3 separate regions of the Homo sapiens genome follow, and regions 1 and 3 are each linked to region 2. The links are contacts of gene promoters, found by promoter capture Hi-C in human tissues and cell types (Jung and others, 2019). All regions are on one chromosome and are shown on one strand. Each heading gives the region's core, a stretch centred on a gene start or on the middle of the fragment in contact. The rest is flanking DNA. Distances are from core to core; before and after follow the strand shown.

Evidence for each region. The method cuts DNA at HindIII sites, captures the fragments that hold promoters and counts their contacts. A contact is called where the count stands out against the background at its distance.
Region 1: a fragment that was not itself captured here is called in contact with the fragment with the promoter of TGFB1I1 in region 2 in 2 of the 25 tissues and cell types used here (bladder and spleen).
Region 3: a contact is called between a fragment that was not itself captured here and the fragment with the promoter of TGFB1I1 in region 2, in 1 of the 25 tissues and cell types used here (spleen).

The regions. Positions count from the first base shown.
Region 1 is chr16:31,331,898-31,336,433 of GRCh38, forward strand. It overlaps ITGAM (integrin subunit alpha M), which reads left to right. Exons shown (of 30, transcript NM_000632.4): 30 at 1-980. Among named protein-coding and RNA genes, the nearest start is that of ITGAX, 21 kb to the right of the region's middle. The HindIII fragment of the contact is 5,342 bases long and covers 521-4,536 here.
Region 2 is chr16:31,469,802-31,474,062 of GRCh38, forward strand. TGFB1I1 (transforming growth factor beta 1 induced transcript 1) reads left to right here and starts at 2,351. Exons shown (of 11, transcript NM_001042454.3): 1 at 2,351-2,400; 2 at 3,640-3,755; 3 at 3,881-3,933; 4 at 4,034-4,176. The coding sequence starts at 2,388. RefSeq lists an enhancer at 2,690-3,230. The HindIII fragment of the contact is 11,590 bases long and covers 1-4,261 here.
Region 3 is chr16:31,264,492-31,269,011 of GRCh38, forward strand. It overlaps ITGAM (integrin subunit alpha M), which reads left to right. Exons shown (of 30, transcript NM_000632.4): 3 at 904-1,007; 4 at 1,320-1,390; 5 at 1,539-1,656. Among named protein-coding and RNA genes, the nearest start is that of ITGAM, 6.8 kb to the left of the region's middle. RefSeq lists enhancers at 563-1,762, 877-1,356. The HindIII fragment of the contact is 5,038 bases long and covers 537-4,520 here.

The DNA.
Region 1 (4,536 bases), core at 1,942-4,441, 140 kb before region 2:
TGTGCGTGTGCGTGCATGTGCACTTGCACGCCCATGTGTGAGTGTGTGCAAGTATGTGAGTGTGTCCAAGTGTGTGTGCGTGTGTCCATGTGTGTGCAAGTGTGTGCATGTGTGCGAGTGTGTGCATGTGTGTGCTCAGGGGCGTGTGGCTCACGTGTGTGACTCAGATGTCTCTGGCGTGTGGGTAGGTGACGGCAGCGTAGCCTCTCCGGCAGAAGGGAACTGCCTGGGCTCCCTTGTGCGTGGGTGAAGCCGCTGCTGGGTTTTCCTCCGGGAGAGGGGACGGTCAATCCTGTGGGTGAAGACAGAGGGAAACACAGCAGCTTCTCTCCACTGAAAGAAGTGGGACTTCCCGTCGCCTGCGAGCCTGCGGCCTGCTGGAGCCTGCGCAGCTTGGATGGAGACTCCATGAGAAGCCGTGGGTGGAACCAGGAACCTCCTCCACACCAGCGCTGATGCCCAATAAAGATGCCCACTGAGGAATGATGAAGCTTCCTTTCTGGATTCATTTATTATTTCAATGTGACTTTAATTTTTTGGATGGATAAGCTTGTCTATGGTACAAAAATCACAAGGCATTCAAGTGTACAGTGAAAAGTCTCCCTTTCCAGATATTCAAGTCACCTCCTTAAAGGTAGTCAAGATTGTGTTTTGAGGTTTCCTTCAGACAGATTCCAGGCGATGTGCAAGTGTATGCACGTGTGCACACACACCACACATACACACACACAAGCTTTTTTACACAAATGGTAGCATACTTTATATTGGTCTGTATCTTGCTTTTTTTCACCAATATTTCTCAGACATCGGTTCATATTAAGACATAAATTACTTTTTCATTCTTTTATACCGCTGCATAGTATTCCATTGTGTGAGTGTACCATAATGTATTTAACCAGTCTTCTTTTGATATACTATTTTCATTCTCTTGTTATTGCATCAATGCTGAGTTAATAAATCAAATATATGTCATTTTTGCATATATGTAAGGATAATTTATAGGATATGTTCCTGGAAGTTTGGGTTCTCCCAGAAGCAAACCCAAGAATTTGGGTGAAACAAGCGTATTTAAGAGGTGGCAGGCCAGGCATGGTGGCTCACACCTGAAATCCCAGCATTTTGGGAGGTGAAGGTGTGAAGATTGCTTGAGCTCAGGAGTTCGAGACTAGCCTGGGCAACATAGTGAGAACCTGTGTCCACGAAAAATTAAAAAAATTTAGCCAGGCCTGGTGTTACATGCCTGTAGTCACAGCTACTCCGGAGGCTGATGCAGGAGGATTACTTGAGCCCAGAAGGTCTAGACTGCAGTGAGCCATGATCGCACCACTGCACTCCAGCCTGGGTGACAGAGTGAGATCCTGTCTCAAAAATAAACAAAATAATAAAATAAAGGTCGGGCACAGTGGCTCACGCCTCTGTAATCCCAGAACTTTGGGAGGCCGAGGCTGGTGGATCACCTGATCTCAGGAGTTTGAGACCAGCCTGTCGAACTTGGTGAAACCCCGTCTCTACTAAAAATACAAAAAAATTAGCCATGCATGGTGGCAGGCAACTGTAATCTCAGCTACTTGGGAGGCTGAGGAAGGAGAATTGCTTTAACCTGGGAGGTAGAGGTTGCAGTGAGATATGATTGCATCACTGCACTCCAGCCTGGGCGACAGAGCAGGACTCCATCTTAAAAAAAAAAAAATAAATAAAATAAAATAAAATAAAGAGATGGCTCCAGGAAATACCGAGGAAGGGAAGGCTGCCAATAACAGGTGTATCACCCACAGAGAAGCTGCTGTGAGTTCCTGGAGCTTCACCCCACTGGGCAGTTCTCGGAGGCAGTGCAGAACACGCACCTCAGTATCACCCCACCCAGGGGAGAAGGCTGGAGCGCATAGACACCGATTCCACTTAGCTATTGGATGAGGGCTGCTCTTGGTGGGGAGAGTGTGTTAATTTCCTACCACTTCTGGCCTGCCCTGAGTGTGAGGAGAGTGGGCTCTAGTGGCCAGAGAAAGTGATACCAGTGCTGCTGGCTGGATGTTTGACAGGTGAACACAGCCCCTGACACGGTGCCTTTGGTTCAGGTCAGGGCACCAGGAGCACTTGCTGCCAAGGTGTGTGCAGGTGACATTTTGGTGGCTGCTTCCTCAGAGGGAGGATGCCCAGTGCCTGTCCCTCATACTTTGCAAACACAGTAAACACTAGCCTGGCCTGAACATACATCCTCTCTAATCCTCACACCAGTCCTTGGTATTTACATGAATTTCACTTATGAGGAAACCTAGGCTTAGATAGATCATACCAGTTGCCTGAGGTCATACAGCTGGGAAGGAATGGAGCTAGGAGTTAATCCCAGCTCTGCCTAGGTCTAAAGCTTTTCTCTTTTACTGTCCTGACAGCCTCAGAGGAATGGCCCCAGAACAGGCATGAGGGAGTGTGGGGAGAGGGTGGCTGTTATTTAACTGTTATGATATTGGGTTAAAGCATATGAAATTGATGACATGTTTTTGGACAAAAATGTTTCTTTCTTTTCTTTCTTTCTTTCTCTTTCTCTCTTTTCTTTCTCTCTCTCTTTCTTTCTCCTTCTTTCTTTCTTTCTCCTTCTTTCTTTCTTTCCCTTCCTTCCTTCCTTCCTTTCCTTCCTTCCTTCCTTCCTTCCTTCCTTCCTCCTTCCTTCCTTCCTTCCTTCCTCCTTCCTTCCTTCCTTCCTTCCTTTCTTTTTTCTTTCTTTCTTTCCTTCCTTCCTTCCTTCCTTCCTTCCTTCCTTCCTTCCTTCCTTCCTTCTTTCTTTCTTTCTTTCTTTCTTTCTTTCTTTCTTTCTTTCTTTCTTTCTTTCTTTCTTTCTTTCTTTCTTTCTTTCTTTTTTTTCATGGAGTCTTGTTCTGTCGCCCAGACTGGAGTACAGTAGTGTGATCTCAGCTCACTACAACCTCTCCCTCCCGGGTTCAAGTGATTATCTTGCCTCAGCCTCCTGAGTAGCTGGGATTACAGGCGTGCACCACAATGTCTGGCTAATTTTTTTTTTTTGTATTTTTGGTAGAGATGGGGTTCCACCATGTTGGCCAGGCTGGTCTTGAACTCCTGACCTCAGGTGATCCATCTGCCTTGGCCTCCCGAAATGCTGGGATTACAGGTGTGAGTCACTGTGCCCAGCCAAAAAATGGTAATTTCATGATCTTCATTGAAATACAAGAAAATCATGGCTTAGAGGGACACTTGTTTCACATGTGGCAGGAGGAGAGAGGGCTTACTCCTTAGGGAGGTGAAGGAAGGGTCCCCAAGGGAGGTGACACCTGACTGAAGCAGGGCCAGAAGATCTCCAGGCAGAAGGGAGGGCAGGGGAGGCTGGGAGAGTGGGCAGGGCTTGGGCATGAGTGCTTTGTAAGCCAGAGTGAGTAGTTCCAATTTCACTCAAAGTGAAGTGAGATGCCCTCAAAAGGTGGCTAATGAGACAATGGCCCTTTGTATCTGTGGGGGTGACACAAAACACGGTCACCTTTAGACGGTTCTTTGCTATTTCCTCTCCTGACTTAAATAAAGTCTGTTAAGAATTTCTGTGTTTCCTTATGTTGAAAGATAAAAGTCCTCAATATCTGCAGAAGTCCTGAATTGCTCCGGGAACAGAGAGAGTTCTGTACCTTTAGTCGCCTGTCCTTTCACCCTCCATGTCTGTAGTCGCCTGTCCTTGCAGCCTCCATGCTGGTCCTTGTAGCCTTCGTACCTAGTTGCTTGTCCTGGCAGCCTCCATACCTGTAGTTGCCTGTCCTTGCAGCCTCCGTGCCTGTAGCCGCCAGTCTTTGCAGGGCAGTTAAAGTCCTGTGAACTCAGAGTTCACCTCCGCGTCTTCAAATGAGAAGCTTGTGTTGAATTCAGCCAGATAGGAGCTTTATGATGGGTTAGAAAAGTCAATCATTTCAAGCGACAGATTTCCCTAGCATGACCACAAAGTGACTAATAAACAGGACCATAAATCTGGTGATAAGTGGCCAAGTCCAGGAACGTCTGCTTGCTTTTATTTTTGGGGATTTCTCACTTCAGAATAAATGAATCCCTTCAGTATCCACTCTCCTTTTCCTACTTAGAGTAGAATCTTAATTTGGGCCACCATGGGAGATGGTTACAATTCTGACTCCCAGTGAATGGTGCTTCCCGGCCCTACACCCTTGCAGTGTGACATTGCTGTCCCTGACATCACATGGTGCGGCCTGTCTACCTCTTTGAATCTGGGCTGGTCCCGTGGTTTGCTTTGATTAATAGAATACAGTAGGAGTGTGGTCGTGTGAGTTCTGGAGCCTAGACCTTTAGGAGCACAGCAGATCCTGCCCTGCACCCCTCGGAACACTGAGGTCACCACGCCGTGATCCATATGGCCCACTGGAGAAAGAGTGGACTCATGGAGGAGACAGCGGAGGCCACTGCCACTGTGCATGCATGAGGCTGCTGTGATCCTTCCATCCAGCTGTCCAACACCTGCAGCCACTGGAGAGTCCCACAGAACTGCCTGGATTGTCACCTCATGCAACTGTGAGAAATAATCAATTACTG
Region 2 (4,261 bases), core at 1,101-3,600:
GACATTTGGGTTGTTTCCACTCGGGCTATTATGAATAATGCTGCTATGAATACTCATGTACAAGTTTTTTTGTGGAATATGCTTTTATTTCTCTTGGTTACATATCTAGAAGGGAAATTGCTGGATCATATAACTCTATGTTTAAACATGTGAGGAACTGCCAGACCATTTTCCAAAGTTAGTGAACGATTTTACATTCCAACCAGCCATGTGTGAGGGTTCCAATCTCTCCATATCCTCACAAAAACTTGCTAATTACCTCTTTCTTTTCAGCTTTTTTTTTTTTTTTTTTTGAGTCGGAATCTCACTCTGTCACCAGGCTGGAGTGCAGTGGCACAATCTCTGCTCACTGCAACCTCTGCCTCCCGAGTTCAAGTGATTCTCCTGCCTCAGCCTCCCGAGTAGCTGGGATTACAGGTGCCTGCCACCACACCCAGCTAATTTTTGTATTTTTAGTAGAGACGGGGTTTTGCCAAGTTAACCAGGCTGGTCTCCAACTCCAGACCTCAGGTGATCCGCCCGCCTCGGCCTCCCAGAGTGTTGGGATTACAGGCGTGAACCACTGAGCCTGGCCTTTAAAATATTATCATTATTATTTGAGATGGAGTCTCGCTCTGTTGCTCAGGCTGGAGTGCAGTGGCACGATCTCAGCTCACTGCAGCCTCCACCTGCCAGGTTCAAGGGATTCTTCCGCCTCAGCCTCCCAAGTAGCTGGGACTACAGGTGCCCACCACCATGTCTGGCTAATTTTTTTGTGTGTTTTTAGTAGAGACTGTTTTCACCATGTTAGCCAGGCTGGTCTCGAACTCCTGACCTCAGGGGATCCACCCACCTCGGCCTTCCAAAGTGTTAGGATTACAGGTGTGAGCCACTGCTCCTTGCCTAATTACCTGTCTTTTTTGTTATTGCCATCCTAATAGGTATGATGTGGCATCTCATTGTAGTTTTGATTTGCATTTCTCTGGGGACTAATGATGTTGAGGATCTTTTCATGTAATCATTGGCTATTTATATAACTTCTTTGAACTGTCTATTCAGGTCGTTTGCCCATTTTTTCTTCTTTTTCTTTTTTATTCTTGACACAGGGTCTCCTCTGTTGCTCAGGAGTTCAGTGGCACAATCTCAGCTCACTGCAGCCTCTGCCTCCAGGTTTCAAGCAATTCTCCTGTCTCAGCCTCCCAAGTAGCTGGAATTACAGGCTCCCACCACCACGCACAGCTAATTTTGTGTTTTTAGTAGAGATGGGGTTTTGTCATGTTGGCCAGGCTGGTCTCGAACTCCTGACCTCAAGTGACCTGCCCGCCTTGACCTCCCAAAGTGCTAGGATTATAGGTGTGAGCCACCATGCCTGTCTCGCATTTTTAAAAAGCTCCCCAGGTTGTTCCGATTTGCTGCTGGGTTGATACTCACATTCCAGTGCTCAGATCTGTCCAGAAGAGTGGCTGCAGCACAGTTGTCTGTCCATAACTACCTCTATGGCCTCTCGTTTCCACCTCGTTTCTCAGGGTCTCAGTCCAGGGAAGGCCTTGCCACTTTGTGGCTGGAGACTGTGTCTTGCTTTCTGCTCTGAGTTCATCAGTAACTTGGGAAAGGGCTGTTTCAGAGCAGGCCTGGGCCACCTCAGTGCTGAGGAAGGGCTTTGTCTTGCAGGCTGGCTGGGGGTTGGTTGCCTGGGAGTGTTTTCCCCGAATTTGCAAGGGGCTTGCGCCCGGGTTCGAGTTTACGTGTGTCCATGACCAAGTCTTGGAGGGAAGGTCCTAGTGTAGAGTCTGTGGGTGGGTTCACTGTGTCTGTCCCCGTCCCTCAGATTTCTTTGTGTCTGGTATGTATGCCTCTTGGGGCCTCTATTTATCTGTCAGGGTCTCCGATGGGAGGGTCTCCGAACCTGAGGTCTAATTGAGCCTTAGAATATCACTCCTGCTACCAATCCAAAAATTCCGTCTGGGACAAGTCTCCCAGGAATGGCATGGGTGGGAGGGAGGCTCTTGTCTAGGACTCAGGCGCTAGCTTTGAGCGGTGTCTGTTTGGGGGCCTCAGTCCGTGTCTGTAAGTCTCCCTAGGGAGCGGCTCTGGGGCTTGGTCTGGAGAAGCCACTTCTCTCTGGCTCTGGCCTCCTGGGGCTCCCTGCAGCTGAGGCCAAGGCTGGGGTGTGGCCGCCTCCGCGGCAGGCCGGCGGGCTGGGCTCGGGTGGGCCGGGGCGCTCCCTCCTTTCCACGCCCCCACCTCGGGTTCCCCCGTTCATCGCCCCCCCATCCCCATCTCAGCGGGTCCCGGCTTCCTTACATGGTCACGGCCGGGCTTCCAGCTCCCGGACGTCCCCCGCCCCCCGCCCCCACCGGACACGGCCCCCGCCCTGTTCGCCCCGCGCCACCGGCCCGCGCCCCGCCATGGAGGACCTGGGTGAGTGGGGCCGGATCCCCGGGTCCGTGGCCCCTCACCGCTGCCCAGAGCTGCCTCCCCGCCGTCGCTCTCCCGCATCTCCCCATCCCTGTCTTCTTACTTCTGCTTTTCGCCTCTGCCCGCGCCTCCTTTCCAACTCCACGTCCCCCTTCCTGCCTCTCCCTTCCTGCCTTTCCTGGGCCGGCCGCTCCCTCCCTTCTTCCCTCGCTGTGCTCCTCCATCCCAGGCTGCGGCAGATGGAACGGGAGGTGCGGCGCCCGCGGGCGCCCGGGCGCGGGGCTCTGGGGAGGGAGGGGTTAAAGGGGCCTCGGCCCGGGGACCGGGAAAGTAGAGGGCACGGGAAAGTCTGGCATCAAGTTTTGGAGAAAAAAAGCGGGCCTGCCTGCACCAGAGTTTTGGGAGAGGAGGAGTTAAGGGCTCCTGAGCACAGTGAGGGTCAGGTCCTTGAGGCAAGGAAGAGAATAGTAACTCAGGAGTGCCTAGGCGCCCGCGAAGGCTTCAGGGTTTCACGCGGGTGCTCAGAGACGAAGACTGAGGGCAGGACTTCTGGGTTCTGGAAGTGAAAGGGCTCAAAAGACCCGGATCTGGGGATGCAGGGATGGAGAGAGGTGTCTTGTCCGGAAGGGGGACCCAGGTATCTCGTCCTCCCTGCGAAGCCTGGGGCTGGAAGGCTGTGCGCTCCACGGGAGAGAGGGGCTTCCGGCCCCTGGCGGTAGAGGGCGCTGCTCGGTAGGGGTAACTGACGCTGTACCGCAGATAAACAGCCAATCAGAAGGCAGGTCCCAGCGAAGCGCCAGTGAGGAGCCCAGGGCGGGACTCAGGGGCCTGGGAGTGGCCAGGCTGGGCGGGGCCTGTGTAGGTAGAGGGAGGAGTTAACCAGCATGGAAGAGAGAGCGTCCAATCAGAAAGCTGAGGGCCAGGCACTGGGCCAATGGAGCAATTTGGAGGGGAGCCAAATTTGGCTTGGGTGAAGAGCCCATTTTGACTGCATCAGAGAAGATGGGGAGAATAAAATAATCAGGAGGCTGGGTTTGTGCTTGGCTCCAAGCGTGAGCAACTGGGATATTCTGGTCATAAATATTCCTTGCTACCCTTCGAGCAGTGCTCTGCCTGGCTCTGGCCCTGTGACCTCTTCTCTTAATACTGGCTTCTGTCCTTCTCCAGTACTGCCCACTGGGAACCTTATCTTCTGATCTAACCGTGACCCTTGTCTCTCTCCCTGATGGCCTCTTCCTGCAGATGCCCTGCTCTCTGACCTGGAGACTACCACCTCGCACATGCCAAGGTCAGGGGCTCCCAAAGAGCGCCCTGCGGAGCCTCTCACCCCTCCCCCATCCTATGGCCACCAGCCACAGGTGAGATCGGATGTTGGGGACTGGGGCAGCCACTAGGGCCAGGCTCGGCCTGGTCTATGGGGATCTCAGCCTCAGTGGGGCAGAGTGCAGGCCTGTCATCCCACCTGTGCGTCTCCGCTCTGTAGACAGGGTCTGGGGAGTCTTCAGGAGCCTCGGGGGACAAGGACCACCTGTACAGGTGAGGGGCCTGGAAACCAGGGCATGGGGGCCAACTGAGTCTCAGGTGAGGAGGCTTGGATTCCCCACCCCTGAACCCAGGCTCCCACTCTGCTTCCCAGCACGGTATGCAAGCCTCGGTCCCCAAAGCCTGCAGCCCCGGCGGCCCCTCCATTCTCCTCTTCCAGCGGTGTCTTGGGTACCGGGCTCTGTGAGCTAGATCGGTTGCTTCAGGAACTTAATGCCACTCAGTTCAACATCACAGGTACCAGGGTGACTGAGAGAGGCCTTGATGCGATAGGGGCAGGGGAGGGAAGGGTGGGGCAGAGACTAAGAGGAATACACTTCCC
Region 3 (4,520 bases), core at 1,806-4,305, 200 kb before region 2:
GTGTGGGCCGGGTCCAGTGGCTCATGCCTGTAATTCTAACACTTTGGGAGACTGAGGTGGAAGGATTGTTTGAGCCCAGGAGGCAGAGGTTGCAGTGAGCTATGATTATGCCACTGGACTCCATCTTGGGCAACAGGGTGAGACCCTGTCTCAAAGAAAAAAAAAAAATGGTTGGCCTGGGACTACAGGTGTGTACCACCATACCTGGCTAATTTTTAAAAACATTTTTTGTAGAGATGGGGTCTGGCTATGTTACCCGGGCTAGTTTCAAACTCCTGGCCTCAAATGATGCTCCTGCCTCAACCTCCCAAGGTGCTGGGATTAAAGGCATGAGCCATGGTGCCCAGCTTGAATTGACCTATTTTTATTTTTAAAATTTATTCATTTATTTTTTGGGACAGAGTCTTGCCCTGTCTCTCAGGCTGGAGTGCAGTGGTGCTATCTCGGCTCACTGCAACCTCTGCCTCCTGGGTTCAAGCAATTCTCTTGCCTCAGCCTCCCATTTAGCTGGGATTACAGGTACGCACCACCACGTGTGGCTAATTTTTTGTATTTTTAGTAGAGGCGGGGTTTCACCATGTTGCCCAGGCTGATCTTGAACTCCTGAGCTCAGGCAATCCACCCCCTTGGCCTCCCAAAGTGCTAGGATTACAAGCATGAGCCACCGCGCCTGGTCCTATTTTTAAATGACTTCTGGTTTTTGTGTCATTCTTAGGAAGACCTTTTCTCATTCTGAGTCTTAACATTTTCCCATTTTTTTCTTTGCTAATTCTTCCTCCTAGTCATAGGAATTTAGGAATCCGGGTATGGGCCCCCACCGTCCTCTGGGTGGCAGAACTTCCTCTGTGGTCTCCTTCTCTCCCCACATGTCGAAGTTTTCTCTGTTCCCACTTCTCCCCACAGGGTGGTGGTTGGAGCCCCCCAGGAGATAGTGGCTGCCAACCAAAGGGGCAGCCTCTACCAGTGCGACTACAGCACAGGCTCATGCGAGCCCATCCGCCTGCAGGGTGAGTCACTGCCCCGCCGGGCTGGGACTGGGATTCCCCTGTGAACACATAGGGACTTTCCAGGCACTCCTGTGTCCTGGGGATCTGTGGTGGGGACACAGGTGCCTGCCTCCGTACCCTCTCCTCTGCCTGCAGTCTCTACCCTAGACATCCCCAGGCAACCCCTCTGTGTTCCTTTCTTTCCCAAGATTTAGGATCCCCCTTCACCGTCAGACCTCCTTGTCTCCCGCATGGAGGTGACCCCTGCCCAGCTCTTCCACAGCCTTCTCTGTCCCCCCACCAGGGTGACCATGCCCATATCTGTCCCCGCAGTCCCCGTGGAGGCCGTGAACATGTCCCTGGGCCTGTCCCTGGCAGCCACCACCAGCCCCCCTCAGCTGCTGGTGAGTGGGGCTCGATCAGAGGAGCATCCTAATGGGGGTGTTTGGGGGCCCACGCATGGTGGGGCTGGGGGTCTTGTGGAGGGTGGAGGTGCTGGGGTACAAGGACAGGAAGCAGGGGCAGCCCCTTCCACTGGCTCCTGTCCCCTAGGCCTGTGGTCCCACCGTGCACCAGACTTGCAGTGAGAACACGTATGTGAAAGGGCTCTGCTTCCTGTTTGGATCCAACCTACGGCAGCAGCCCCAGAAGTTCCCAGAGGCCCTCCGAGGTGGGTTGCCTTTGGCAGAGGGAACAGATGCGCAGCAAAAGACCAGGGGAGGGGGCAGGACTGAGGTGACGTCTGCTCAAGGTCTGGGCTCTGGGTGCAGAAGAGTGGGGGAACTGGGTCCCATTAGAGTCAGAAGCTAGGGAGGTGCTAGGGTCTTGTACTTTAGGAAAACGCCTTGGCTAGGCACAGTGGCTCATACCTGCAATCCCAAAGCTTTGGGAGCCCAGGAGCTTGAGATCAGCCTGGGCAATGTAGTGAGATCCTGTCTCTAAAAAAAAAAAAAAAAAAAATTAGCTGAGTGTGGTGATGAGCACCTGTAGTCTTAGCTATTTGGAGGCCAAGGTGGGAAGATTGCTTGAGGCCACAAGTTCAAGGCAAGCCTGGGCAACATAGGGAGATCCCCGTCTCTACAAAAAAAAAAAAAAATTAGCCAGGCGTGGTGGCACACACCTGCAGTCCCAGCTACTCAGGAGGATCACTTGAGCCTGGGAAGTTGAAGCTGCAGCAAGTTATGATTGCACCACTGTACTCCAACCTGGGTGACAGAGCAAGACCCTGTCTTTAAAAAATAAGTCCAGGTCACACTGCAGAGGAGGGGATGGTGCAAGGTGTCATTGGCAAGAGGTGGGAATCTTGGGGACCATCCTGGGGGGCGGCCTTCCACACCCCTGTTCCCCAAACCTCTGTTGATTGAGATTCTGAGTGACTGTATGGATTTTTTTTTTTTTTTTTTTTTTTGAGGCAGAGTCTCGCTCTGTCACCCAGGCTGGAGTGCAGTGGCACGATCTTGGCTTACTGCAACCTCTGCCTCCCAGGTTCAAGCGATTCTCCTGCCCCATCTTCCCAAGTAGCTGGGATTACAGGTGCCCGCCACCACACCCGGCTAATTTTTGTATTTTTAGCAGAGACGGGGTTTCACCATGTTGGCCAGGCTGGTCTCGAACTCCTGAGCTCTGGTGATCTGCCCACCTTGGCTTCCCAAAGTGCTGGGAATGAGCCAGGGAATGAGTGGGGGGCATGAGCCACCATGCCTGGCCAGAGTGCGTGGATCTTTCAAGCTGCTTTTTCCCACTGCTTTGTTCGATGGCTATGCCATCTTTTTGCTTGTCTTCATGTTGATTCTGGGACCACAGGCGAATGTTTCTCCCTTGCATTTTTTTTCTTTCTCAAGCCCTGTTCCTCTATATTTCACCCTCCACAGTTAATCCTCCTTCCTCCACAGAGAAAACAAAAGCTTCAGGCATGGACTCCCTCCACTTTCCCCTTCTCTTATTTTATCTTAATAAGCGGTTTTCCAGTCTTCACTGGAATTTGTTGACAAATTCTAAAGGAGCTGTAACACCGCACTTTCTCCTTTTTCTCAAATTTCCATAATGACAGCACTCCTGGCAGTGACTCACTCGTTTTAGAGGAAGACCTGTCTCTCCTCTGTCCCATGACTAAATTCTTCCATATGGGCTTTTGAGAGTCTCTCATGCACCAACTAAGGTGATCACCTATCTTTCTTTTTTCTTTTTTTTTTGGAGACAGGGTCTTGCTCTGTCACCTAAGCTGGAGTGCAGTGGCACAATCTCGGCTCACTGCAGCCTCTGCCTCCTGTGCTCAAGAAATTCTTGTGCCTCCGCCTCCAGAGTAGCTGGGATCACAGGTGCGCATATACTGATTTTTGTATTTTTTGTAGAGATGGGGTTTCACCTTGTTGCCCAGGCTGGTCTCGAATTCCTGGGCTCAAGAGATCTTCCCACCTCAGCCTCCCACAGTGCTGGGATCACAGGTGTGAGCCACTGCGCCTGGCCCAGCATCTCTTGAATCACTTGTTTTCTCTCTAGGACAATTAACTTCCCCCTTCCTCTGGCTGTAAACACTCTTCATTCTATCTGTATCTGAAAAGCAATCAACCACCACAATCGATAGCCATGAAAACAATCTTCTCTCTTCCAGTCTCCTCCTCATCTCCTGCCATCTCTCCTCACCCTCACCACCCAAGCTTCCTGAGTGCATTCTCTTCACCCCCGGCTGGCCTCCAGCTTCCCTCTCCACCTAGGGGCACTGGGTTCTGGGTTCTCTTTTCACCCACGTGTTCTTCTTTCCTGAAATCACCCAGTTCTGTGGCTTCAGCTAACACTTCTACCTCTCCCTCTTTAGACCTCACTCTCAGGGTTCAAGACTACTTCTTTAAAAAAGTTTTCATTTATTAAAAAATATATAATACATACACTTGGTTCAAAATTCGAAAGGGTGCGGTAGCTCACACCTGTAATTCCAGCACTTTGGGAGGTCAAGGCAGGAGGATTGTTTGAGGCCAGGAGTTTGGGACCAGCCTAGACAACATAATGAGACCCCATCTCTACAAAAAATGCAATTAGCCAGGCATGGTGGCGTGTGCCTGTGGTCTTAGCTATTCAGGAGGCCTCCCAAAGTGCTGGGGTTACAGGCATGAGCCACTGTGCCCTGCCAGTCTTTCTAAAATACAAAACAAATCATCTCACTTCCTTTTCTAAGAACCTTCTGTGGCTCCCCATTGCCTACAGATAAAGTCGAGCTCCTTATTGGAGTAGAAAGGCCCTTGCCCGCTGCTCTTTGCTTGATGCCACCGCTGTGTCTCCATCGCCGTCACATACGTTTGTCCCTGTAGTGCTGTTTCCATCAAACGGCATTCCTGGATTCTGCCAGAATCCTTTTGAGGCCCTTGTCCCATATATCAGTAGGAGTCTCAACTGGGACCAAAAGCACATTCCAGTAATGTAACTGCCCAAGGGGTTCACCTTGCTTGCTGCCTAGACAGAGCCGATTCATCAAGACAGCAGAATTGCGATAGAGAAAGAATAATTCACACAGAGCCAGCTATGCAGGGGACCAGAGTT